Regions from separate parts of the Homo sapiens genome. Here region 1 is linked to region 2. The links are contacts of gene promoters, found by promoter capture Hi-C in human tissues and cell types (Jung and others, 2019). All regions are on one chromosome and are shown on one strand. The core of a region is centred on a gene start or on the middle of the fragment in contact, and the rest is flanking DNA. Distances in the headings are between cores, read along the strand shown.

Region 1 (3,855 bases), core at 1,355-3,854, 44 kb after region 2:
AAAGTGTTTGGTAGACCATACTGTGTCTTTAAAAAAAAAAAAAAGACCGAGGCCCTCTGCAAGGAAATTTGGGAAATCTTACAGATGTCTAATTAAAAACACCGTGGCATATGACATCTTAATATCTTGTGATCAAATTCCCAGGGTCTCAGACCCAGGAAGGAAGTAGATTCCTCATATTGGAGTGAATAGCATGTTGTCATTTTTGAGGATTCCCACTGGTCTGTCTTGTATAGTCATTTTCTTAGTATCCTAGACTTTTAATATTAGTTTTATTAAGACATACCTTATGTGCTTATCTGAAAATTCATCAATTTCCTGTATACAAAGACCATTTTGGGTTGGGTGCCGTGGCTAATGCCTATAATCCCAGCACTTTGGGAGTCTGAGGCGGGCCGATTGCTTTAGTCGAGGAGTTCGAGACCAGCCTGGGCAACATGATGAAACCCCGTCTCTACCAAAAATACAAAACTTAGCCAGGATTGGTGGCATGTACCTGTAGTCCCAGGTATTCAGGAGGCTGAGGTGGGAGGATGGCTTGAACCTGGGATCGGGGCTGCAGTGAGCCAGGATCGCACCACTGCACTCCAACCTGGGTGACAGAGCTAGACCCTGTCTCAAAACACAAAACAAAACAAAACAGACCATTTTGTAAAAGTTTTTAAGACGCTGGTGTGGTAGGACTCATTAATGAATTTAGCCATGGTATTAACATATTTTATGTAGACTTTCAAGTCCTGATTTGGCTCTTTACAGTAGCCAATAGATTCCAGTAGAGCCCAGCTAAATTTATATAATTATAATAGGTAATATTTATGGAATGCTTGCTGTGGGTCAGGTGCTGTGTTTGATGTTTTGACACACAACCTCATTTAATCCTCAGAATTAGATGAGGGAGGAGCTAGTATGCTTCTTGTAAAGATGAGGAAACTCAGGCCAGGCGCGGTGGCTCACGCCTGCAATCCCAGCAAGTTGAGAGGCCGAGGTAGGCGGATCACCCGAGGTCAGGAATTCAAGACTAGCCTGGCCAACATGGTGAATCCACCTCTCTACTAAAAATACAAAAAAATTAGCTTGGCGTGGTGGCGGGCACCTGTAATCCCAGCTACTCGGGAGGCTGAGGCAGGAGAATTGCTTGAACCAGGGAGGTGGAGGTTGCAGTGAGCCAAGATCGCGCCATTGTACTCCAGCCTGGGCAACAAGAGTGAAACTCCGTCTCAAAAAAAAAAAAGGTGAGGAAACTGGGATGTGGAAAAGTTAAATAATGTGCCCACGTTCACACAAAACTAGAGAATTTTGCCAGCTAATTTGGAGCCAAGACTTACACAATATTTCAAATACATTGAAGAATTATTATTATGAAATGACATAGGTAGAATCTGAGTAAAGAGCTTAAATACTATACTTAGGTCAGAATGATGTGGGTTCAAATCCCATCAGTTTCATCATCTAAGCCCCTCATCCCCCACTGACTTTTCACTTCAAAACTGCTTTTGGACTCAAGCTCAGACTGCTTACGTGAAGTTCAAAGGCTCTCTACAGTTTGATCTCAGTCTTTTTTTTTTTTTTTTCCTGGCTTTAGCAAGAATTTTTTATTCCAGTCGTAACTACTCAGGGGATGTCTTTGTTTTAGGGAAGCTGTTCCATTCTCTGTCTTTGGTATGTGCTTGGGTAGGCCTTTGTGCCTCTGTCTGTGTTTTAATCTGTATTCTAGCATGTGTCAGAATTCCCTTCCTTTTTAAGGCTGAACAGTGTTCCATTGTACGTATCTACATTTTATTTATCTATTCATCTGTCGCTGGACACTTGGGTGACTTCCTCCTCTTGGGTATAGTGAATAATGCTGCTATAAACATGGGTGTGCAGATATCTGTTTGAGTCCCTGGCAAATTGTACTTAAAAAAATATATTTTGAAGAAGATAGCTTAGCTTAAAAAAAAAAAAAAGAAGAAAGAAAGGTGGTGGCTGGGCGGCATTCAGCTATCACCTGAAACCTAACGTCTTATGTCACTCTTTGGGGGGAACTTTGTCCAAATCATGCCCATCTTTTTAGACCGCTCAAGCTGTCTGTCTTCTCTGGAGCTTTCTCGGACCTCTGCAGTTCATAGTGACCTTTCTTTATATAACCCTGGAGCACTCATTAGACAGTAAAATAATCAGACTAATGGCTCATTTAGCCAGGAATCACATCCTGTTTCATCTGTTTTAATGTCTAGAGAAGTTAACTCTTAAATTTTATGTTTCTCTATCTAAAAGACTCACTTCCTAAGCTATATTATAAACTTCCCAGGCACACAGACACTGGGAGCTTTGTATTTTTCCTACCATGCCCAGCATGATGTTTTGCATAAAGTTAGCCCTTAATAAATTTGTTGCTTGCATGTAAAATGGTTTGTAGCCTAAAATCACTCTATCAGTCAGTGCGATTGTGCAGCCTTGTGATGGGTTATTCTTACCTGAATCCTGGCCCATCCTGGATTTGAACTATAGATTGGTGCAAAAGCAATTGTGATTTTTGCGTTGGAAGTAATGGCAAAAACTGCAATTACTTTTGCACCAGCCCAATACTTTAGAGGCAAAAGTAACATGACTTGGAGACCCTTGGAGATGCAGACGACTCCTATACCTTCTCTGATATTTCTTTGATGTTATTTTAGACTAATTCGTATTAAGATATTTAAATAAATATTGCCTTTTACATCACCACATTCCTGATTTATTTCTCTGAAGTTAAAGAATGATTACGATTGAATCTTTTCTGGTGAGAGCAAACATTTTCCCTATAACTAGAAGATCTTTTCCTTTTCTGTTTTGTTTATTCCTGGCGGTAGAAGGATTTCTCAGGTGGTAAAATGGGAGGCTTTTGCCTAACAGAGTAGCGCTTTATTACACAAAGGTTGAAGATGCTTTATATGGCATTGTGCAACACAAGTTTCCTCCGTTCTTCTTGCGTGCTTTTTACCAAAGCTTCCCAGGCCTAACAGACGGCATGGATTGTATGCTCTAATGAAAAGAGAACAGATTCTTGTCTCCTTGTCTTGATTTCACTTCTGCTAGCTAATGTGGTCGTATCACTTAACTTCTTTGTGCTCCTTTGTTATGGACATTAAGATAGAGAATTTGTATCTATCTCTTGGGGATTTGGGAGTAGTTTAGTAGAAAGGTGTGTATGTGTATATTCTATGCCAGCTGTTCAATAGGTTGAGGATGAGTTTTTAAGGAACTCCAGAGACATGTAAACAAATAACTGAAATTCATCCTGAAGAAAATAAGGAAGCAGGTAGGTAGACAGATTGGATGCCTAGTTAGAGCCCAGCAAACAGAGGCTTTAAAAATAGATTTTGAGAGAATTCGATATTTCAAAAAAAGCATCAAAGTACATGATGGCAAAAATAGGTCATTATGGGATTTTCTTACATGTATTTTATGGTGTAGTTATACATTTTAATATCATATGAGAAACTGAAATGTAAACCTTCAGGATTTAGGGCTTCTAAAGATCTCTATCTTACCCTGGGAAGAATTATGATATAAAAGATATTAAAACTATTCTGACTTTTTAGAAGAAGTTTTATATACAGACTTGGAAATATTCTGACTGTTCTGTGTATGTGTGCTAATGTTTCATTTATCTGCCTTTGCGAAGGAATGTTACACATTATTGAGACTTACATAATATTAAAGCTGTGCTAAAATATTTAACTTTTTGGTTAGATATCATTCTAAAATGTATTGCATATATCCTTGTCATCAAAAACAGAATACACTGATTTTGGCTGTTGATTATTACCCTACGTTCCCAATTAGTGCCATAATAAAGCAGTCAGGGCCGGCTAAGCCATGGGGCTCTTGGGT
Region 2 (3,516 bases), core at 578-3,077:
GTAACAACCACCCAGATGACAATCTTTTATTATTATCACTTACGTTTCCGGGGCCTGATTTGGCTCAGCTAGGTTTTCTCTCTAGGTCTCTCAGGCAGCGTGGTCAGTGACTGTGGCTGGAGTTCTTTCAAAAGCTCGCCAACTCACATGCTTGATATAAGTTGTACTGGCAGTAGACCAGGTCCTCAGCTGGCACCATCAGCCCAAACACCTACACATGGCCTTCCCTGTGGCTTGAGCTTCCTCACAATATGGCAGCTGGGTTCCAAGGGTGAGTGTCCCAAGGGAGAGCCAGGTGAAAACTTCATCTCCTTTTATGACCTAGGTTTGGAAGTCACATAGCATCACATCTGCTGTATTCTATTTGTTACAATCAAATCACTAAGTCCAGACCATATTCAAAAGGAGGGCAATTAATATCCACTCTCTAATGGGAGTCTTCAAACCACCATAGCCATGTATTCCCTGAAGACCTCTCTGTCCTTGGCTTTGCTGGTCTGTAAAACAAGGATAATGAGAGAAACTTACCTCAGAGCTTTTTGTGAGGATTAAACAAAGAACAGTCCCTGGTACCCAGTATGTGTTAGTTTCGCCCATTATCACACCACTTGTACATCTGAAGTGATGCTGATGGTGACATCAATGATGAGACAGTTCCCAGCAGATATAGTCTGTGAAGGTCCCACCTTTCCAAACTCTACTAGTGGCATTTAACAAATCCCAGCGCCTGTGGTTCTTATGCCAGTGGGAACAGTTACTATATATGGTCTGAATTCTTTGGTTCACCTCACTTTAGTGACAGTTTCCAGATACAGGTCAGTCCATTTAAACCTGGCCCATTTATGGCAATTTATTTCATTATAGGATAAAGTAGTTAGAACCATGAGTAATAATTACTGTGTCTACAGTGCTTTTAACACCTCAGCCAAGTAATCCTCATCTCACCCAGTGAGTAAGTTTGAATGCGCACCCTTCCCTGTGCGAGGATGAAGAAACCAGGACCTGGGTCAAGAGGATTGTTCTAAATTCTCCAATGAGGCAATAGGGCTTGAGTGAGAAGGTGTGTGTGTGTGTGTAGGGGGGGTGTCCTGATTCTCTGGCCCCTACATGCCTGTATAATATACCCCATCACTGATCATTACTCAGGACCTGTTAATACACTCTATTCAAATACGTATGGGTATTTGAAATTTCTTTTAAACTACCTCTCATGTATTTATAACACAAAGAATTGGCCAGTGTCTATTTCCCACAATGTGAGATTAAGTAATTTAAAAGATACTAAAAGTCTTGTAAATGAAGACACACCACACCACTCAGTATAATTTTTTTCTTTTTCTGTGAAACTAATATTTTCTGATATTCTCGGCATCCAAAAATTTTCATCTTGGGGAGGAGGAAAAATTGAGACTTACTCCCACTGTTTGCCGGAATGTGACCCCAGGCTGGCTTCGAGTTGTCAAATGTTGTATTTCTCATTTTATGTCAGTGAGTCTGGAAGCAAAAAAGGTAGAAAGACTGCCTTCCGTGGGGGCCGCGACGATCGCCCCTCCTTCCCTCAAGCCTCGTCCCATCCAGGCTCGCCCCGGGTGCGGAGGGTCGGGCCGCAAACCCGCAAGGCGCGGAGGCCGCCGCGACGCTCACCGGGGGGCGCTGTGAAGCCGGCACCGGGCGGACAGAGGTGAGTCGGCTCGGAGGCGGTGGCTCCCGTTCCTGCCCGCGCGCCGAGGGGCGAATCCCAGGCAGCGAGGTCGCCGCCCCCGCCCCTCGGCCGGCCCCTCCGCCAGCGGGCGAGAGGGGAGTGGCCGGGCTCCTCCCGCCGCCGCTGAGCACTCCGCAGCTGGGTGCGCACGGGAGCCTCAACCGCGGCGCGTGGAGGCAGTACCAGAGCGCGCGGCGCGCAGTCGGCCGGCAGCCGCGGGACAGCCTTGGCAGAACAGCCGCGGCGGGAGCCCCGCAGCCCCGGGCTGGGCCCGCGTCCCGGAGCGCCACCGGAGAGCGAGGACGACGTGGAGGCGGAGTGGCGCCCGGCGAGGTAGCGCCAGGCGAGGTAGCGCGAGCGCTTTCTCTCTCTCTCCCCTGCCCTTCCCTCTGCGTCCGTCGTCGGCCCCCGAGGCGCCTGCTCCGCGCCTTTGTGCCCGCGGTCCCTGGCCCCGTCGCACCCTGCGGGCGGGGGTCAGCGGGCTCTGCCGCTCTCTTGGGAGACGCGGCGCTGCGGCGGGAACGGCGCACGCTGTAGGTTGCGGAGGGTGGTCGTGACTCCGCAGTGGCTTCGGGGGTGGCGGGAGGGAAGAAGGGCTTGTAAACTAAGTTGCTCTTACTTTGCCCCATGCCTCTCGTACCTGTGGGCAGAGTCGAATCTCGGCTGTCCTCGTGTTCACCCACAGCCCCTCCATTCCTCTGGCCCACAGCTGTTTCCTGGCCCCCTGGAAAGACACGGTGTGGCTTCCTCCGGGCAGGAAAGCGGAGGGAGAACAATGGGGCGTCCTGGGGAGTGGGGTTCAGGTGCGGTGTGCCCCGGCGGCGGCGGGGGAGGAGGGGCCCGGGACGCTGTGGGCCTCCCTGCGCGTGCAGCTGCGCTCGCCTCCTTTGTTCCGCCGCAGCGGAGGGGGTTGCCCTGGGTCTCGTTTCCTGCCCGGGATGGGATTGATTCACGGTCCCAGAGAGGGAAGGGGAAGGGGGCGGGGCTGGAATGGAAACCAGATTAGAGACGGGAGCTACGAAGGGTGGTGGGGCCGGGAAGAGAGTTGGGGAGAGGGTTGGGAGAGGGTGATGAGAGCGCGCTGGAGAGGTAACTACAAACACACAACATTTTGTTCAAGGGCCATGTGAGTTTCTAGAGCTTATTTGTAGTGCTTTGTTCAGGCTTCGGCCCAGCGTTTATTGCTGCAACAAGTTGTGTGCTTCTTGAGTTTCTAGGCGTTCCCAATGTTAGATTGCTCAAAGCAAATCTTCTTAGTTACAGTGAAAGAAGCCCCCCCCCCTTTTTTTTTGAGATTTGAAAAAATTTTGCTATGAACTATGGTATTGGTGTGTATGTGTGTGCCTCTGGGTCTGTGTGTGTAGCTAGTGGATATTGGCTGGAATGGGTAGGAGACAAATTTTATAGAATCAATTTTGACGTAAAATTGTTTTATAGTATAATATAGTACAACAGTTTTCCAGGACTGTTTGAGGGCAGAAACCACCAGAAAATTAGACATTGCTATAAATAAATGAATCAGACTATGTAACACAATTGAAAAACCCTTTTACAGTCTGTCCCAGGAAACACACCACACACACCAGCGTTTGGGGTTTGAACTGAGGAGCCCTGGCATTGAAGTGTTCTGTGCTTTCACTCTCTGTGTGAGGATCGTTTAGAGGTGGTAGAATTAAATGTAATGTGTCAGACATTTGTTAAGTGACCTTTCCTAGATTGGAATCGAGACTCGCCAAAGGATTGGCTGACCTAGGGAGGGAGCTATGGGGGATTGAATGATGTGTGTTTTTTGAATGGGGTATTCCAAGCAAAAC

The links. The method cuts DNA at HindIII sites, captures the fragments that hold promoters and counts their contacts. A contact is called where the count stands out against the background at its distance.
Region 1: a contact is called between a fragment that was not itself captured here and the fragment with the promoter of MYO1B in region 2, in 1 of the 25 tissues and cell types used here (liver).

The regions. Positions count from the first base shown.
Region 1 is chr2:191,286,312-191,290,166 of GRCh38, forward strand. The region is part of intron 2 of MYO1B (myosin IB); the gene reads left to right. Among named protein-coding and RNA genes, the nearest start is that of MYO1B-AS1, 42 kb to the left of the region's middle. The HindIII fragment of the contact is 7,493 bases long and covers 1-3,855 here.
Region 2 is chr2:191,243,577-191,247,092 of GRCh38, forward strand. MYO1B (myosin IB) reads left to right here and starts at 1,828. Exons shown (of 31, transcript NM_001130158.3): 1 at 1,828-2,050. It overlaps MYO1B-AS1 (MYO1B antisense RNA 1), which reads right to left and starts at 2,599. Exons shown (of 4, transcript NR_186085.1): 1 at 2,343-2,599; 2 at 44-497. RefSeq lists an enhancer at 1,714-2,336 and a silencer at 1,749-2,138. The HindIII fragment of the contact is 14,933 bases long and covers 1-3,516 here.